Regions from separate parts of the Homo sapiens genome. Here region 2 is linked to region 1. The links are contacts of gene promoters, found by promoter capture Hi-C in blood cells and fetal thymus (Javierre and others, 2016). All regions are on one chromosome and are shown on one strand. The core of a region is centred on a gene start or on the middle of the fragment in contact, and the rest is flanking DNA. Distances in the headings are between cores, read along the strand shown.

What was found. The method cuts DNA at HindIII sites, captures the fragments that hold promoters and counts their contacts. A CHiCAGO score of 5 or more calls a contact.
Region 2: a contact is called between a fragment that was not itself captured here and the fragment with the promoter of MPZL2 in region 1, in 2 of 17 cell types (naive CD4 T cells and total CD4 T cells). The highest score is 5.6, in naive CD4 T cells.

The regions. Positions count from the first base shown.
Region 1 is chr11:118,263,029-118,267,648 of GRCh38, reverse strand. MPZL2 (myelin protein zero like 2) reads left to right here and starts at 3,352. Exons shown (of 6, transcript NM_005797.4): 1 at 3,352-3,553; 2 at 4,552-4,620. The coding sequence starts at 3,496. RefSeq lists an enhancer at 3,551-3,600. The HindIII fragment of the contact is 8,608 bases long and covers 1-4,620 here.
Region 2 is chr11:118,492,710-118,497,341 of GRCh38, reverse strand. KMT2A (lysine methyltransferase 2A) reads right to left here. Exons shown (of 36, transcript NM_001197104.2): 16 at 4,112-4,285; 17 at 2,944-3,054; 18 at 2,575-2,648; 19 at 1,449-1,642; 20 at 975-1,081. Among named protein-coding and RNA genes, the nearest start is that of TTC36, 32 kb to the left of the region's middle. The HindIII fragment of the contact is 3,432 bases long and covers 637-4,068 here.

The sequences.
Region 1 (4,620 bases), core at 2,103-4,602:
GAGGTGGGGCAGGAAAGCGTTCCCTCCCACGATTTTTCTAAACTCATAGAGGCTCAGTTTCAGGCCCAGACCTGTTTTGGAATATCTCTAGGAAACTTCAGGCAAGAAGGAGGGCCACAGGGAACACAACTATTCCTTTGGGCTAAGAGCCCACCTCTCATCTAGGACTCTTGACAGCCTAGCCTCCCTCTCTCATCTTTGAAAAGCTCCCTTAACCCGGGGAAGTTTTGACAAAGGATGCTAGAGATTGGAGTTGTTGGTTGGGGAAGGCTGGGAGTCCCTGAGTCTTTGGAAAACAGATGTTAGGTCTACACTTTCATTCTGGCTCATAAGCCAGGAGCCCAAACGAAAGCCAGGAGAGTAAGTGGTCGTTGGTGTCCCAAGACTTTCCTTCTTGTTTTTAATGGTTCTGGGAAATACCAAAGTAATTCTACTTCTAGGGATGCTCTTCTTGGGTCACATATTAGCCATCCCCAATGGGTATATTTGTTAGGATCAAGTCCACACTCCTTAGGATGGTGGATGAGGGCACTGCCCAGGTGGACCTAGCCTCTCACCTGGCCTGCCACTCCTCCCTGTGCTCCAGGTTTGAGGAATTGCATGCTAGTCCCTGTGGGTACCACATTCCCACCCATTTGTTCCAATGGGAAGGACTTTGTTTATCCTCTTTCCAGAATTCCTATTCATCCTTTAAGGATTGAATTTAAAAATCAAGAAAGTGATAATTATTTGTTTACTTCACCTTCCTATCTTATATTATTTCCTCCCAGGTAGAAATATTCTATGTATGTCTGAATTTTTTCTAGTAAAAACATATGAACAGACACTTTTGAGTAAACGAATGCTTTATTTGATGACCCTAAGAGCTAAATTATTTGTTTTCCTTGCTTCACAGAATGCTAATTTCACCTTAGGTGAAAAAAAGATTTTTGCCTAGGAGGTTGAGAAAGACAACTTTTACAAATATTGATACAGGCCCACTGTCCCTTCTGTCTCCTGAGCCCCCAGTGAGTCTCCTGCTGGCTAAGGTCTAGATACTCACTAGAAATCATTTTTTGGGAAATGTGTAGATGGATGGGACAGATGAGATTCTTTCAAAAACTATTGGTATGTCACAATTTTAAATGACAATCAGGATCTTTCTCTGGAAAAGTTTAGAAAGAAAATGGTGTCTCTGAAAACTTTACTTTTCTTCTTTTCAATTTCCAGAACTCCTCTTCCTTTCCTTCCATTTGCCTGGGCACAAACATAACTTAGGCCTTATGTAGATGCCTGCAGTTTTGGTCTAAGTCCTGCTGACTGGTGTCCAGAAAACTGTGAGGGGCAAACATCCTTTTTATTTAGCATTTTCTCTTCTTAACCTTCTACCCTTGGCCTCTTCCTTGCCCAGTGAGGTGAAGTGGTTGACTGTGGAGCCACTCCTGCTAACTGGAAGGAACTGGGCGTTGCCAGGCACTAAGCCAGGAACTTGAACTCAGCTGAGAAGTGGGATCTGGATAACTCCTGCCCCTCAGAGCAAGGCTGGCAACCAGCTCATGGGTGTTTGGCTACCTGGGGGAGGGATTTCTGCTCCTGACAACAGGCAGTTTGTTCAGTTCTTCCTGCCCTGATTCTTCTCCTGTTGCTTTTCACTGCATCCCTGAGCTCTTTGGTAACTCTACCTCTCACCAGTTTTTGCAATTTGCTGTAGACTTCAAAATCCTGGCTCTACCTCTCCTTCCTCTGTAGCTGTATTTCCCTGCAAAGTTGGAAGCCAACCAAGATCAAGTTTCCTTAACTCTTTTTCTTTCAGGGTCCTGGAGCTGAACTCTTCTGACCTACATACCAGAAAGGCTGTATCTTATCCTTCCTCACCAACATCTGAAAGGTTCCCCCAGCAGACTGATTTTAGGTCCCTTTCTGAACTAGAATCTGACAAAGACGCCACACAGTTTTCAGAAACTCTCACCATGCAACAGATTTTCACTAGCACACAGCTGGTCTGCATTTGGGGCCACCTCTGCTTTCTGAGTTCCAACACAATGGATTTTTGTGGTTGTCTACCTGTTTTTGCTCCATGCCCATGTCATCTTTCTCCTGTTGCTTTCTGTTTTCTGCACTTCTGCATTCTCCTCTCTTTTGGTAGAATTTTCTCTTTTCTTCCCTCTTTATGATGTTTTATTTTTTTCTACTCAGCCTGCCGCCTTCTCTTGTTCCTGCCACCCTTTCTGCTCTGGATTCAGCTAGAAGATTTTATGAGTGACTGAAGAGTTTCTAGACTGCTAATCCAGGGATAAACGCAATCTGTCTTTTTTCAGGGTTAGATTCCCAGCCCAGCCTACTTCTTAACTGCATGTGTAATCTTCATCCCCCTCCTACCGATGTTTCTGTGCCGCTTCATTAATCTGTAAAGATGACCCACCCTCTTTCCAGACAAGGAGGCATCTTTTCTCGTTTAGATTCCTCAGCTCTTTAGACTTCTCAGTCATTTAGCTATTCAAAAAATGACAGATGAAATCCGAGGCACAACAAAGTTATCATGAAAACCTTTTCCTTGAGAGCCCCATGTCTGATTGTTCATATTAGCTGTTATTTGGTGGAAAGAACGCTAGATTTTTAAGAAAAGTTCTGGTTTTGCCACATGGTAGCTGTGCAACCTTGGGCAAATCATTTACCTTCCTCGGGTTCTTAGCGTCCTCACTGGTAGAATGGGAATGCTTCACAAGGGCGTTAATGGAGATGAAACAATCAGCAGGAGAGCACTTTGTAGATTGCACTCGGATGGCAGGGTGAATGAGCAGGGATGGTGTCCTCATTTGTTTTTAAAGTCTTCAAAGGTAAAGGATTGTTAAGCATGGAGATTTGATTTGTTGTTTCTGCCAGGTCTCCTGGAAAGCTACAAACTAGAAGAAGTGCAGGAATCCTTGTGGTAACAGGGGTATCAGCTTTTTGTCCACAGAGGGTCCTAAGGAATTCCGACTCCCGTTTTGAAATTGTATCGAATCCAGTCCCAAGTGAATGTGGCCCTGGGGTGGTGCTTTGAGAAGTGGAATCACTGCAGGACAGTTTCAACATTCACTTCCCAGGCAAGCCTAAAGCCTGTTTTAAAAGGGCGTGTGGGGGCCAAACCCATAACAGTCTGGGACATTTCAGACTGGCACCACCTCCTCTGGCTGTTTCCGAGGCCATCTAGAGGCCAGAGCCCAGTCAGATTAACTGAAAGTAAAGAGAGGACTGCGGGAGTTTGGGACCTTTGTGCAGACGTGCTCATGCTCGTTCGTGTAGAGGGCGGGAGAGAGGAAAGGAAGGAGGGCATTGGGAGCTGAGGCCCCACCTTTCATTTCAGAAAAGTGCACAGGCAGAGCGGGCTGAGTCACAGGCACAGGTGAGGAACTCAACTCAAACTCCTCTCTCTGGGAAAACGCGGTGCTTGCTCCTCCCGGAGTGGCCTTGGCAGGGTGTTGGAGCCCTCGGTCTGCCCCGTCCGGTCTCTGGGGCCAAGGCTGGGTTTCCCTCATGTATGGCAAGAGCTCTACTCGTGCGGTGCTTCTTCTCCTTGGCATACAGCTCACAGGTAAGAGCCGGCGGGCTTCTCTCAGAGTTTCCTCCTTCACTGCTCACTCTATAAAGTTAGCTAATTGTCTTAGAAGTTGCAAGACTTTTGTTTGGGAGCCTGAGCCACAGATACAGTTTGTTTTACTTTGGGTTTTACTGAAACCAAAGTTGGTGGACTGTTTTTGGAGAACTGCTCTCGGACAAACAGGTTTAGGTGTGTTCAGCTGCCAGTGATTCAGGCACAGAGAGGGCTTTCTAATCTCAGGTTACATGCCATTTTTTTGTGTGTGGCTGTTCTCAACCTCCCACTGCTGGCAGGACTTGGCATTTGGATTTCTGTGTGTGGGTCTTGTCTGTGACTCTCAGCAACACCAGGAAAGTGGAGATTGTTAGAGAGAGACCTACTGTGATTTTGAAAGTGCCCCAACACACACATTCTAAATGTAAATATCAAGTTTAAAAAAATGCCACGTGGTACAAAGGTTCTAGGGGTGCAGGCAAACATAAGCTGTCTGGAGTTGATTAATTCAGTTTCTGCAATAGACTAGTAACAGTATGAAATCCACCTAAGGACCCATCTGGAAAACTTACCTGCTAGGAGACCACTTTACATACAACACATAATGCTTAACCTTAATACATAATGTAATGTCTAATCAATGTTATGATTCATTTTAATTTTTTGTTTATGCTTTCAATTCTATTTGCGGATGTTTGTAGTTTGTTATAACAGTTTTGAAGTCAGTACCACGAGGCGAGGCTTTAATGCTGTGGAGAAAGTAAAAGCACTGCGAAGGCTTGCTGTGTGGTAGTTTAGTTGTCACATGGAATGGGAGGGTCCAGGCTGCATACAGGTAGGAGTATGTAGATTCTGGGTGAAGTAAGTTTGGGAGATGGGGCATCTCAGTTTCACTTTACTTTAAGTCCTACTCAGATATTTATTTTGGAAGTGTCAGCAGAAGTTCTCACAATACTACATCCCCTGTTAACCCTTCTTTTTCTTCTTTTTCATTGCAGCTCTTTGGCCTATAGCAGCTGTGGAAATTTATACCTCCCGGGTGCTGGAGGCTGTTAATGGGACAGATG
Region 2 (4,632 bases), core at 1,103-3,602, 230 kb before region 1:
TTCAAAGCCAGTTCTCTCAGATGGTATTTAAAAGCTTTTGGCCGGGCACGGTGGCTCACGCCTGTAATCCCACCACTTTGGGATATGAGGTGGGTGGATCACCTGGGGTCGGGAGTTTGAGACCAGCCTGACCAACATGGAGAAACTCCGTCTCTACTAAAAATACAAAATTAGCCGGGCATGGTGGCACATGCCTGTAATCCCAGCTACTCGGGAGGCTGAGGCAGGAGAATTGCTTGAACATAGGAGGCGGAGGTTGTAGTGAGCCGAGATCACGCCATTGCACTCCAGCCTGGGCAACAAGAGCGAAACTCCAGCCTGGGCAACAAGAGCGAAACTCCGCTCAAAAAAACAAAACAAAACAAAACAAAAAACACAAAAAACTTTTAAAAAAATTGTAGCTTACTGTGTGTGCCAGGCACCAAATAGAGGCTTTACATACATTATTTCATTTAATCCTCACAGCCACTCTGAGGTAAGCGTTATTATCTTCATTTTAAAGATGAAACTGAGGGTCAGAGAGGTTAAACTACTTGCCAAAGTCAATAAGTAGGCAGTTAAGCACAGAAATGTATTCAGGCAGGCGGCAGAACTCGGGCTCTTAACGATTCTGCTATCCTATATGAAACACAAGCTTTTTAATATGCAACTTAGATTTTATTAACTTTCACAAAATATTCTTGAGGAACTTCCATTAGAAATTACTAGACATCAAGGGTTTAATTTAAGGCAAATCAGTCACCTTTTAATCAACAAAATCAGTCATTAAAAAACTCCAAGTGCCATGAACTAAGTGACAAAAAATAAGTTACAAATTAATAAGTTATAAGTTATAGGTAAATAAAAGTTATAAATTAGTAAGTTATAAGTAAGTTCATTAAATAAATGGCACCCAGTCATCAAGTATGGACACAAGGACAAACAGTTCTTTTGGAGTATGTATTAACTAGGGCCCTGTGTTGCAAAGTACTTACATTAGCACTGTCATCACCATAAGTCAAACATAACGCACACTGTCTATTGTCTTCTATGCCTGGGGGTGGGTTCAGCTCTGGACTGTCTTCTCGACTCCTATCAGTACCTTGAAATCCAAAAGACTCCCATCAATACCTTGAGATCCAGTTAAAATTGGCAATACTATGTCTGATTTCAAGGAAAAAAGAAATAATTCAGCTTACATAGCCCACAGCCTATAAAATAACCACTTTTCAAAAAGTGTTCAGAGTTACGCTACCTCATCATCTATGTTACAATACTCCAGAGTATTTATATCAAGTCCTCATTAACACCTCAAGTGAAGCAAAATTAATGATGGTATTACATTTAAGGATGACCTGAAAATTCCTTTCTGATATCCAAGTATATCTAATTTTAGTGAATTGGATTCACGAAGTCAATCATCTGCATCTAGAGGGAAATGGGTGACGACTCTCCTTTTGGTGGCTTACTCAAAATTGGTGGTGTAGGAGGATGCAGAGGAGTTGGTGAGTCTGGTTCTCCAGGACCTTTGGGTTTGGGAGCTGGAATGATTTTCTTCATTAAAGGAGGCTGCTCAGTGTGGCTGTTTTCCTCTCGCTCCTGCCACTGAGCATAATTATGGTCAAGTGAAGGTGGAAGCACTGCGTTTGGTAACATCCCACTGCTGAAAATAATTGATTCAACAAGCATTTATTGAACTCCTACAGTATACCTAGAACTGTATAAAATAAATTCTTGATATCACCTGTTGCCCCATGTAGGAGCCATTCACAGAATATAAGAACAAGTCACAGCGTTTGAAAATTGCTGAAGTACACAGAACTCAATATTTTAAAAAATATCTCAACATATGACTCTTGGTTAAACTTGCTGAAACAAATGATAACCCTATCAAAAACTCAAAAGAGGCCGGGCATGGTGGCTCATGCCTGTAATCCCAGCACTTTTGGGAGGGTGAGGCAGGCGGATCACCAGGTCAAGAGATCAAGACCATCCTGGCCAAAATGGTGAAACCCAGTCTCTATTAAAATACAAAAATTAGCTGGGCATGGTGGTGCCCGCCTGTTTTCCCAGCTACTTGGGAGGCTGAGGGAGGAGAATCGCTTGAACCAGGGAGGCGGAGGTTGTAGTGAGCCGAGATCATGTCACTGCACTCCAGCCTGGTGACAGAACGAGACTCCGTCTCAAAAAAAAAAAAATAAATAAATAAATAAAATCAAATCAAAAGAATTTACTGGAATAAAAATTAAAGGTTACATATGGAAAATCAAGAGCAGTACAAAGCACCATTTGAACTATCAGTCAAACAGAACCCATTTATAACAAGGCCAGCTACATGGCTGTACCACACATGTATTGTACATTTGTCACAATTAAACCAAGCTCCCTACAATAAAACAAATATAAAAGTAAAGAACAAAAAGGCAATTGCTTATAACAAACATTAAATGTAGTCCTCAAAACCACACCGAAAAGGCATTTCAACCAATTCATTTCTAGTATTAAAACCTTTTGGAAAACTGCAATCTAGAAATATGAGAACTCTCAGATTTCTAGCCGATGAGGAGAAAAAAAAGTTATGCTAAATTCACTTACTTGCTTGATACTTTATTTGGCTCCCAAAACCTGGACTTTTTGACACTGAACCATGGAAAAACACGTTCCATTTGCTAAAAGAAAACACAAACAAAATGTAAATATGTAAACACTCATTTAGATACCACATGAAAAATCTTCAAACCAGCTTCTCTGTTAATACGAGGATAATTTCAGGCCACCAAGAGAAAGATCCATCCACTCTGGCAACCTCACCAAGTTCCTCTCAAAGAATCAGGGGATCAAATTAAACCAAAGATGTTTTATACACACCACAAAGCAAAAAGTAGAAGAGAACAAGTTCATTGTATTCACAGGGTAATTACTTATAGGTAAGCATTAAAAACATGAATTAGTAATATCATTCACCCGAATGAAGAAGGACTTGACCATGCTGTTGGCTTTTTTAATTTCTGGCTGTCCTCCATCTGAATTAATGGCTGCTTGAATGATCTTCACAATATCATCACTGAACTCCAACTGTATACAAAAACAAAATGTTAATTATTCTTAAAACAGTGTGCTCTGAAAACCATTTCCTCTTCCCTCCTTAATCATCCAGCACAGAGATCCAACAGAAAACTCACACCCTATTTTAATGTGGTATAATACTCTTTGGCTGAGACCTTTGAGATTCAATTCACGATTAACCTGTGGCAATTAAGAGATGCCAGGCTAATGAGGTAAGAATGCAAACAAATTGGCTGTATCATGATAAATTATCCAAGCAGGTCCACAGTTTTTATTTTGGATTAAAATAAATAAACAGTGGCTCACGCCTGTAATCCCAGCACTTTGGGAGGCTGATGTGGGTGGATCACTTAAGGTCAGGAGTTCATGACCAGCCTAGCCAACATGGTGAAACCCAATCTCCGCCAAAAATACAAAATTAGCCAGGCATGGTGGCACATGCTTATGTAATCCCAGCTACTTGGGAGGCTGAGGCAGGAGAATCACTTGATTACGGGAGGCAGAGGTTGCAGTGAGCCGAGATCATGTCACTGCATGCCAGCCTGGGTAACAGAGCGAGACTCCATCTCAAATAAATAAATAAATAAATAAAAATAAACAACAGAATCGCAAATATAGATCATGAGATAATAAATAATCATTTCCTATACATACTTAAAATCATAAAATTAACAGGCATCTATCTACAAATGAAGACCTTATAAAGAAAGGCACATTATTCAGATCTGATCTCAAAAGGGGAGGGAGAACCAATTAATTTCATATTAGCATTTCCCACATCAACAGTTTCTTAGTGCTTCCTCTTAATATAAAAATAATTTTCAGAAAACTGAGATGAAAGCCAAATAAAAGAACTATTTTAAGACATTATCTTCCCTATCACAACCCTTCTTCTGAAACACAAAGCTAAAATAACTCATACATTTTTAGGTATCTAAAGCCACGTGACATTTCTAAATATAATACAATTCATTTTTAAATTTACTTATACTCAGTTTCATGCCCCAAAGGTCCAAAGAAGCTTTATTGGCACTAGAAATTCTGATGGCTCACTGTAGAAACATACCACAGATGTGTAATTCCCTTGGTCCATCTTCCTCTTGACTCCTTCTAGATCTAAAGGCTGCTGATCATCCTGTTTGCTGACCTCAGTAAGAACTGGTGGATCAGGTCCTTCGGGGGAGCTGCGGGAAGGTATACTCTCCTCTGTCTCGGGATTTAAGTCTGGAGGCTTGGCAGCCTATTGCCAGGAAAGATATGTTGCTTTTATCTAACACTAAAACCAAGGTGTCCATGTAAATTCTATTAAAATTAATAAAGATGGTACTGAATGATTAATATTGTAAAACCCAAGGAACATGAAAATAATCAGATTTCTCAAATAGAAAAGGAAAGTTAAAAATGAGACTGTTATGTAATAGCTTAGCTAGGGTAACTTAGGAGCTTTTCTTGATAATTCCAAACCTAGTATGAAGAAGCTGAAATTGTGTTCAGTTCCTTTTAACATAGAAAGCAGCTAATTTTCCTATTCAAAAAATGGAGCTCTATTAAAAGATAAAACAGCAGCTTAGCTCTGAGGTAAAGTGA